Regions from separate parts of the Homo sapiens genome. Here regions 1 and 2 are each linked to region 3. The links are contacts of gene promoters, found by promoter capture Hi-C in blood cells and fetal thymus (Javierre and others, 2016). All regions are on one chromosome and are shown on one strand. The core of a region is centred on a gene start or on the middle of the fragment in contact, and the rest is flanking DNA. Distances in the headings are between cores, read along the strand shown.

Region 1 (3,290 bases), core at 622-3,121, 6.1 Mb after region 3:
AAAAAGGAAAAAAGGAGAAGGTAGTGGGCTCTAAATTGGAGAAATTCTAATTTTACTGGCTGAGCTGAGGTCCAGGTAACAATACTTTAAAAACTTCCCAAGGGATTCTAATGTACAGTCAGGGCTGAGAACCATTACTCAAGTCACTTTCCTGCAATTTAACATGGCACACTGCAGCAGGAAAATACTCAAAAGGGCCTAGGGGCCTACTGATGAAATCCAAACTCTTTGGCCTCGCATGCAAAGATCTCCACAGTGTGATCCCGAATCCCCTACTTCACCCAAACTGGCTTAATCATAATCCCTTACTTCTTTTGAGTTCCTCCTATCTGGAACTCACTTCCCCCACTCTCCATTATTCAAGGTCTACTTCAAATTCCTATGTCTCCACCAAATACACAAAGATCTTCCCCACAAAGTACACAGTGATCTATCTCTGAAATCTCTGAGACCATCCCTTATATGTAGAACTTATCTGGTATTTGGATGTATAGCGACACTTTGTACTACAATTTATCTTTGCACATATTCCTACTCCCCACCTAGACTGGAAGCTTTGGGGATCACAAACAGGGCAACAAACAACTGTATACCTAGAGCTTACTCAAGCACACAATAAATCTTTTTTGGTATTAAGGATGATGAACAAGAAAAACATTTAGACATATAAAGCTAAACTTGCTCAAAATTATTTCTTTTTTTTTTCTCTTCAATTTACCTGGCCCCATTTTCTATGATCTAAGTATTCATAAAAACTTCATTAAAAAAACAAAAAACTTTCTCATACTACAATTTATTGATCAATAAACAAGTCTACGGTTATTGGCAACTTTCACTGACTTTAAATATCTGACACTTTGGGGATTTTTTTTTTCTTTTTTCAATCTTATAATGACTGAGAAAGGTAATATCTTTTTTCAAATGTTTCATTTATTTTCTGAAGTATACTGCACTCTAATTTAGCGGGGTCTTCTTTAAAAAAAAAATCGTGTCCTAAGAGAAAGCTTCAGAACCAGAAAATGCCGTTCTAGTAGCTGTGCGTTACTATAAGGGTCCATTAAAATTCCTTGTGTCTAACTTATTCTTGCTGATGAGCCAGTTTCCTAACCCCAAAGGTAAAGATCAAATGTTAAGTCGCCAAACCTTAACCACGTTCTACTGCCTTAACCGTGGCACAAGGTTCAGATTAAGAAATCGCCTTTGACCCAGAAGTTCCAGTTCCAGGACCTTTAACAATAATGACACATACATTTACCTTTGTAACTCACTGTTACCAGATTAACGACCATTACTAGCGTGCTTTGGGTGCAACCACCCACTCTTCAAATTCCGCTTCTGAAGAAACTAAGATCCAGGGCCAGTAGGGAAACAGAAACCGGAGTCGGGCTTTGGAAAACATAGCAGCGTCCATAACCACGCTCAGTCAATAACACTAAAACACTCGACCACTGAGATGCCACCTGTACACACCCACCCCTAGTCCACTACTTTCTCTAGCCTACCATCCAAACTTGAATCTGACTCAAACTTAAGGAAATTCCAAAGATCTGGGACAAATGGTGTGTTTCCACTCGACATGGACCCCAAAGATCCCCTCTAGACATCCTGTTTTTTGGACCAAATGCCAGGAACATAAGACAGGTTCGATTTCCTCCCGCGCCCCAGCGCTCCCGGTTCTAGGGCCCCGAACTTCGAACCTCAGCCCTCTTCTTACCCAGGCCTGCACGCCTCATCCTGCCAGAGGAGAGAGAGAAAAGGCGGGTGCGGGGCTTTGGGTGAGTAGGAAACAGCTAGGGGCGACCCGGACCGCGTCTTCAGTACCAGGGCCCAGCGAAACACCAACTTCTTCCCCTAAAGCGCCACGACATCAGTGGAGTCTAAACACCGCGCCGGATGATGGCGTCACCACGGCGCTCATTGGAGCCCTGGGAAGAAGGTTGAAAGGCATTCTGGGAAATGTAGTTCACCAACGCATAACGTGTTGCTGAGGGCGTGATGTGAACCCGGTTCCAGGAGCGGACGGGGCGTCCGGAAAAGGGGGCGGCTTCGACTGCGGCTCTGATTCTGGGTCTCTGATCCAACGTTCCCGCTGTTCCGCTCGCAGCCCGCGGGTCGCTGCTTTCAGTTTGTTGACCACCAAGTTTAACCCAGCAGATCTGCTCCTCCCCACCCACAAGAGGATGGTTGGGGTATCTTTCCTGATTTAGCCTCGAACTCCCTCTCACCTCCAGAGACGATTCAGGGAAAGTTAGAGAAAACTTTGTCCAGGTTTCTCAGTTTACAAACAAGTAATCCGACACCCACAGAAGTAACCGATTTGTGCCTTGTAGTATCCAGTAAAGGAAAGAAAACCAGGTTCCTTTGAGTAGGACTCCTGCTCAGATGAGAGCAGACTAGGAAAGGCTGCGGGATCTGGTCAGAGGCACTGAATAGTTAGTTCCCTGTTACTGCATCTGTTGTACTTCTAGAAAGAACCAAGACTTTTAGTTGTTATGGGGACCAAAGGACCCCTAAACGCTCTCCCACTTTTTTTTTTTTAACTTACACAAAGCTTATTGAAATACTGCTTACACAAGGCAGTGTGCCAATTAGGGGTTTAAAACTTGTTGGCGAGTTGGAGGTGTTACTGGTATCGAGGTTAATCCTAGAATTTCATTTTATCTCAGAGGATTTATCGTGAGAATACGATGAAATCGTGGTTTTTGAAGGGAAAACAAAAAAACCTGATACACAGTAGGTGATCAAAATTCACTGGGTGTCTGCGGTTTTGTTGTTGCTGCTGTATATATGGCAGTGGAATCGTCTCCACACTAGAGATTTCCGAATATGTGATCTTTGATCATTTAGCGTTTCCTCATAGTTTCCCAGGACATTATTAACATTGACTATAATACTGGCATAAGTCTCTGCGTTAAGTTGCTTTTGTAAAAAACACATGAAAACAATTTTTAATAAGAGTTATTAACCTGGGAAGGAGGCTTTATCCAATAGTGTTTTGATAGAAAAAAATCATTAAAATAAAACCGCCATTTTCTAAAAGCAATGAAATTAAATAAGCATAATATCAGGGACAATTATTACAAATAAAAGATGGAGATTCAATAAAAGAAATGATAGCTAGGTATCCCTTTATAACTTAAAATCTGTGACAGTCCTTTGGTTAAAAAAATGCATGTTCTATAATTAAAACGTTTAAAAATTGCCTTACAGAAGGCTTGCTGATGGAAATGTAGAAATCGTTATTTTTGAAAATATGGTAATATTTACTAGAACTAATCATTTAGATTACA
Region 2 (3,452 bases), core at 25-2,524, 5.4 Mb after region 3:
AAATAACCTCTGTTAGTGTCCCCCAAACTTCAGTCATTTGCAAATCACCTTTATTAGTTTTGCCATATCTGACTACCACCCATACTATTGTTTACCTAGTATTTTTTATTACGTTGACACACTTGAACTTTTTTTATTCTAAGAAATATTTTTGAAATTATGGGTCTGTGTCATACTTTTAGAAGTTAACATTATAATAAAATAAACTTAAAAAAATTGGTGCCATGCTTTAGAACTTTCTTCAGCACAATACATGAAAATCTTAACACATCTGATGACCGATTAATCCTTCAGTTTCTACTTGCACATCTGCAGTAATCTTAGGCAAGTTCCTTAATTTCGCCATACCTGCTTCGTCATCTTTAAAATGGGAACCCACAGGATTCTTGTGTGGATAAATGAAATCATATATTTAAAGCTATTAGCAGTTCCTGACAGGTACTCGGCTTTCGATAAGTGTTAGCTATCATTGTTAGCTTTAGGGCTGCTTTTTCTTCTTCTTCTCATATTCTCATAATTGTAAAGTCCTTTTAAAATTGTGTCCCCAAAGACACTTCTGTTCCTTTCCCCAATTTAACTAAACTGCCAAAAGTTGAAAAGAGGACTTTAAAGTGACAGGTATACTCGTTATTGTCGTATTTCCCGTCATCACTGCTTTAGAGTACGGAGGTAAAATAATAGGCGGGCGTCAAAATCCTTCGATTTTAGAGCTTTTGCAGGGGATACCAAGACTGAGGTAGAACAGCCCTAAACCTGGAGGGCCGCCTATTGGGCAACCTAGAGCACACCTTTCCTCAGGCCAAACCCAGCGCGCCCGGGGTAGTCTCGAGTTCTCAGGTTACCCCTCAGTGACAGCCCTTTCTTGAGTTCCTTCTCCTTCGCGTCAGTCTCTCGTTCTCCCACCCCGCCCCTCTAGACCAGGTGAGGTTTCCTCCCTCACACTCCTAGGGGACATCGCGTCAATCTGGCTTATATATTGTCTCCTCTGAGTTTGATCTTTCGCTCAACGCCTAGTCACCTGTGACTTAGGTTTCCGTCTCGCCGAAGAGTAGCTACTGCCTAGTGCAAGCACCTTTGTAAGACCGGCGATCGCAGTGGTCGCTCTGAGCAGTAATATTTACCGGCTTAACTGAAGCACCCGCTCTTTTGCTTGCTGGGAGATGTAGTCCCTGGGTTGGCCACTTTAGTTCATCGTTGCTACCGCCGGCGTCCAGAAGACTACAGTTCCCAGCAGGCCCAGGGAAAGACAGGATACCCTGGGTCGGCTCCTCCACGTGACCACCCACTATGGCTTCCTAGTGTCAGGGCCAGCTGTGTAGTGGCTCGGTGTGATTTGTTAGCTCTTTGAGGCAGGGTACCCTCCTCAGGATTTCGATATGCAAAAAATCAAATCTCTCATGACCCGACAGGTAAGTCGCGGCGGCTGAAGCAAAGGCTTCCTTCATCTCGGAAGTGAGAGGAGCCGAGATGTTCTGTCCCCAACCAGTGGCGGGCGGGGATCTAAGTTATGGGTGGTGGCAGGTGTCAGGGGGACTGGGAAGCCGGGGCATACCCTAGAAAACTCACCTGGGCCGCCTGGGTTGGAGCACTGCTCCAGCGGGTACCAGCCTCCCAGAAATATTCGTTTAAAAATAAGTCATTGAAGGAATCAGGGTATCTTTGTCTCCCCTCCTCCTCTTTTTGCCGTCTTTCCAGAACAGCCCGAGCTTCCTTGCAAGGTCTTCCGCATCCAGGCTGTCTGTCATATGCGAGCTGATAGCCTGGGTAGGGTGGTGTGGTCTGTGCAGTAGAGGTGACCTGGAAAGACTGAAAACGGATGATTTGAAGACAGAATTAGTAGCTTTTGGATTTTGGGCAAGTCCCCAAACTTTGTAGCTTACGTTTCTGGATGTGAAAATAATTATTTTTGTTCATTTTACTTCACAGTTCTGTTATGAGGGTCATCGATAAGCTAATATATGTGAAAACTCTTTGTGAAATTCTGCTTTAAAAAATTTATTTTTGTCATGGCAAAATACTGATCTTTTCTTTTTTTTCCCCAGAATGGAAATTCATGAATAAGAGCTTTGGCTATTTTGTAACCTGTCTCATAAATGTTAGGGACCTCGTAATAATGCCTCAGCTTCATTTAAGAAGTGCAGAAATTTTCTTTTATGTACTTATTGATTATGACTTTGTTTTAGCTGCCTTTATTTACTTCAGCTTTAATATTTCACTAGAATTGGTCATTTTATTATTTTAATATGAAAGATAGTTAAGATTAGAGTTTTAAATCAACATGGCTTTTAGAAGTTTGGAGAATGTGGAAGGTAATCGTTTAGTGAAAGGTATATTTGTGAGTTTTTTTCTTGTTGATTACAAAAATAACTCAAATTCCACATTCTTATTTGAGAATTCACAATTTGAGAGATATATAAACAGGATACAAATTGTGTATTTCTCTTGCACAATGCACAAATGACCCTTACATGATTATTTTAGTTATGTCAGAGCATTTTGTTAATGTTATGAAAATATAATCAAAATGTTCTGTGAATAATAAAAATATTTAAGTAAGTGGCTAGTAACATTTGTTAATTCCTCACATGTGTTGAGTACTGGTGTTGTGCGTCCTACTACTTCTTACTTGACGATGAGTTTGGGTCCTGCTGTATCCTGTGGCAGCTGTGTGACTTTCGGCAAGTTACATAACGTTTTTAAGCATCTATTTCCACATCTTTAAAATAGGAATAATGTGTGCCTTATGGAGTTAGCCTGATAGTGGTGTTTACATGATATAATGAAGTTAAAGAGTTTAAGGCGTTAACGGAGTTCCTGGGCATTATCAAGGAAGTGCTTGAACGCAGAGACCGTTAGTTACATTGGCTATGTTGATGGTGGGAAAGCAGGAAAATTGGAAGCAGGCTGTTGCAGTAATTCAAGCAATAGATAAGTTCATGCTGACTTCGGTACCTGTTTGATTTTTAAATCAATATATACTTTTGTACTTTATATCACTAATACCTCTAAACTGCCTTTGGAATGCTGAATTTGGACTTTTGTGCATCAGCTGTTTGATGCTGTCTCAAGTTTGTTGCCTGCCATACAGTTCAGTGTAGTTAACGTTGTCATAATTGTATGGTAGCTGTGGTTGGTTTAGTTTTTTTGACCTCATTTTGTAAAACTGAGGAGAGAAAAAAATTTCAGATAGCAGTGATAAGTGTATGTCTCCTAAATGTAATGCAATTGTGCTGAAAATGGTAACACTTAAGCCTTAGTCAGTTGCTTATTGAATTTCAGCAGGTCAAACCTGTGTTTAATTGAAATGGAAAAAAATACATTAAAGAACACATACAAAAAGCTGGAACCATACTGTGTACAAAGTGAGGTAAAATTAGGAGTTTTGCATACATATTTAAAGTTATCCTAATTATATATGTTATGGCTTGACTTTCACATATTTGATACTGATG
Region 3 (3,175 bases), core at 519-3,018:
TGTCCTGGGGATGAAGGAACTGGTGCAGTGTTCACTAGAATGATAGTAATTATGGAGCTCTTAAGGAGCTCTACTCTGTGCCAGGCACTGTACTAAGCATTCAAAAATGTTCATTTAATCTTCACAACATCCCTGAGAAGTACTACCCCCTTTTAATAGATTAAAATTGGGGCTCAAAATTACCCAGAGGCCAAGTAGTTAGTGAAGCCCATATGATTCCAATGTTTGCAGTCTCTTCCCAATTCTGTGGCATTTTCTCCATCTCTTTCACTATTTCATCAACGACGCTTATAATCAATTCTCTTATTTCACATGCTCTCCTTGGCAATTTCATTTCCTCCCAAAGCTTTAACTACATTCTATATTAGTGCTTCCCAACTTTTTAAATCTTTCTGTAAATATAAACATTTTGTGCTCTCTGTAGCTTATATTTTGAAAATAAGTTTTTTCCCATAGAAATTACAATATTGAATATGTTTGTTCAAACTACACTTCCTTCCACCACTCAAGATCTGTTAACCTCTAATGAATTGCCCCATGATTGACATCAATAGACCTTGATGCAGAAATATTTTATTGGAGAGATATCAAATCAATCTCTATTTCCTCTTCCCATGTCCACTTCTGCTAGACATTTCTCTCGAGTCATAAACATCTTTAACTGTCTAATAAGCATAGTTCCATGACTGTCGCCCCAGGCCCTTCAACATAAACCTGTCTAAAACCAAACTCTCATTTCCCTTAGCAAACCTGTTCTCTGCGTTCTCCAGCTAATCTTGTCACAACCCACCCTTGTCTATTCTTTAAGGTACCTACCTGCAAAACCGTAACGCTGATACTCTGACTTCCTTGAGCTACCAGGTAAAAAAATCAACCACTACAGGAGTGCCTATTATGGCCTGGAGTAGAGGAATGCAAAATAGTTCAAAATATCCTCTTCCTCCTGAAGAAACAGATTTTTTTTTTTTTTTGGAGAGGCATGTTCCAACTTATAAAATTAAAATATATTCACAAGCATTTTAATTTGATCTTTAATCTCTGTTTTACAGGAAAAAAAAATGAGATGTTACTTTCCACTCCTTCATTGTTGAAATAAACTTACACTCAACTAAAAGAAAACAGGTCTGAATACAATAAAAGTCAACAGGACAGCGCAAATAGCCAACTACCCAAGGACACAAAGTGACCTGGAGGCGTTCTGCGGTGGCGCTGCCGTCAAGGCCGGGGCCGCCTGGCCAGACCCTCCCTCAGACGCCCCCCGGGGCCGCCCTCACTCCCGCACGTCCCTCTGCAGCTGTCCTCAGCCGGTGGGGTCGGCAGTGACCGCGGGAAAACCCCGCTTGCTGTGCGACCCAGGGCGCGCTGAGCAGGGGCTGCGGCTGCCGCCGCTGTCCGGCTCCGGTTCCGGCCCCGGCCCCGGGCCCGGCCAGAGCTGAGTCCGGACTCAGCCAAAGCCCCTCGCCTTCAGCTTCCCAGACGTCCGACCAGTGGAAAATTAGCATACCTGGGGCAGAAGGCAGCTGCAGGGCCGGCAGTCCTGGCAAACCTAGAAGGCGGGAATAACCCTGGTGACGGGCGGGGCCGGGCTCCGGCGCTAACTGCATCCACTAGGTTTGGTCAACACAGAGCCGCGCCAACTCTCTGAGGCTGCGCCAAGACCTGAAGCGGCGGACCGAGAGCCCGGGTCTGAGACTGAGAGAGCAACGGAATGGAGGCGGGGTAGAGGCGGAAACACAACCTGCAGGGCCAGAGCGAGGCGCGAGAAGGACGGCGGCGTGAGGGGGCGGGGCGCGCAGCGCGAGAAGGCAGGCACGAGGGGCGAGCGCGAGGCGGGGCACGGCGCGTGGCGTGAGACGGGGCGGGGCGCGCGTATCGGCGCCGCGGCCGCGTGACGCGTTTTCAAATCTTCAACCGCCGCAGCCCACTCGTTTGTGCTTTGCGCCTTCCTCCTCCGCGCCTTGGAGCCGGATCCGGCCCCGGAAACCCGACCTGCAGACGCGGTACCTCTACTGCGTAGAGGCCGTAGCTGGCGGAAGGAGAGAGGCGGCCGTCCTGTCAACAGGCCGGGGGAAGCCGTGCTTTCGCGGCTGCCCGGTGCGACACTTTCTCCGGACCCAGCATGTAGGTGCCGGGCGACTGCCATGAACTCCGGAGCCATGAGGATCCACAGTAAAGGACATTTCCAGGGTAAGAAGCCCCTCCTCCGCCTGCAGTCCCTTTAATCCTTTCCTCCCCTCGTGGTTCCACCATTGATTCTTCAGACTTCTCCCGCCGGGTCCTCAGCTTCTTTTCTTCTGACCGGCCTCTGGGGTCTGAAGGAAGGAGCCCCCGTTCAGTGTTTTGCCTAAGAAGGAACGGATCCTGACCCGGCCCCTCGAGCGCTCTGCCGTTTACAGCGGCGGTCCCAGATTGATTCCCGGTCGTGCCTTCGGTTGAAAACTAGCAAACAATGTGCAGATCCGGGACCTCGCCGGGACTGCGGCGCTGTCTGCTCCCGGGCTCTCGCATATGCTAAGCCTCCGCCCGGGCCCTTGGAGGCGACGGACTGCATCCTCAATTTAAAGTCAGACGCGCTCGTGGCTTTTCGCTTCAGGATTAGATTGAGTGATTGTGGGTGGATTTTTGGTCTTACCCTTGAAAGTTTATTTTCCTTTCCTCATAAGTTGGGGGAAAGCATTGTATTTCAAACACCCCATTGCTGGTTTCAACATTACAAACAGGGAAACAAAAGCAAATTTCCATTTTCAGTCACTTTATTTGGTGAAACATTCCAGCACCTAAGTTTTTTGTACAGGTGTTTGTGTGTGTGTAGTAACTACCAATTTAAGAACAGATTGCGTTTGAAAAATTAATTTTTAAAGCAGTTGCTTGGATCTCAGATCTGTTTCTAATGAAAATAATGAAAGGTTTAGTTCTTCGTAATGGACCGTTAAGTTCTTAATACGTAGACAAATTGTATGTGAAATGGACCGTTTAGTTGTTAATATGCAGACAAACTTTATATGAAACTAAAACTTGAGCAGTCTGAAACCCTTGAGGACTAGGTTATTCTGCGTAACAGAGGATTCTTTCATCGCTAAATGAAGTTTAAACACCAGTTTTGAATGTTCAGCAGAATGGCAGATGCTCAATAAATAGTTGAGTATTAAATATCCCCATGGAGTTTACATCCTAA

What was found. Contacts are between HindIII fragments. The CHiCAGO score rates a contact against its expected background, and 5 or more counts as called.
Region 1: the fragment with the promoter of BET1 here is called in contact with the fragment with the promoter of SLC25A40 in region 3 in 1 of 17 cell types (total CD8 T cells); the score reaches 8.8 in total CD8 T cells.
Region 2: the fragment with the promoter of VPS50 here is called in contact with the fragment with the promoter of SLC25A40 in region 3 in 1 of 17 cell types (naive CD8 T cells); the score reaches 6.1 in naive CD8 T cells.

What each region holds. Positions count from the first base shown.
Region 1 is chr7:94,002,484-94,005,773 of GRCh38, forward strand. BET1 (Bet1 golgi vesicular membrane trafficking protein) reads right to left here and starts at 1,872. Exons shown (of 4, transcript NM_005868.6): 1 at 1,715-1,872. The coding sequence starts at 1,733. RefSeq lists enhancers at 1,082-1,688, 1,689-2,294, 1,749-1,798, 1,809-2,438. The HindIII fragment of the contact is 1,547 bases long and covers 1,003-2,549 here.
Region 2 is chr7:93,231,092-93,234,543 of GRCh38, forward strand. It overlaps VPS50 (VPS50 subunit of EARP/GARPII complex), which reads left to right and starts at 1,275. Exons shown (of 28, transcript NM_017667.4): 1 at 1,275-1,409. The coding sequence starts at 1,377. It also overlaps a transcript of HEPACAM2 not described here. RefSeq lists enhancers at 976-1,045, 1,186-1,355, 1,446-1,495, 1,736-1,795. The HindIII fragment of the contact is 4,774 bases long and covers 1-3,452 here.
Region 3 is chr7:87,874,592-87,877,766 of GRCh38, forward strand. It overlaps SLC25A40 (solute carrier family 25 member 40), which reads right to left and starts at 1,769. Exons shown (of 12, transcript NM_018843.4): 1 at 1,505-1,769. DBF4 (DBF4-CDC7 kinase regulatory subunit) reads left to right here and starts at 1,902. Exons shown (of 12, transcript NM_006716.4): 1 at 1,902-2,187. The coding sequence starts at 2,142. RefSeq lists silencers at 1,162-1,611, 1,742-2,001 and enhancers at 1,365-1,874, 2,062-2,181. The HindIII fragment of the contact is 3,397 bases long and covers 345-3,175 here.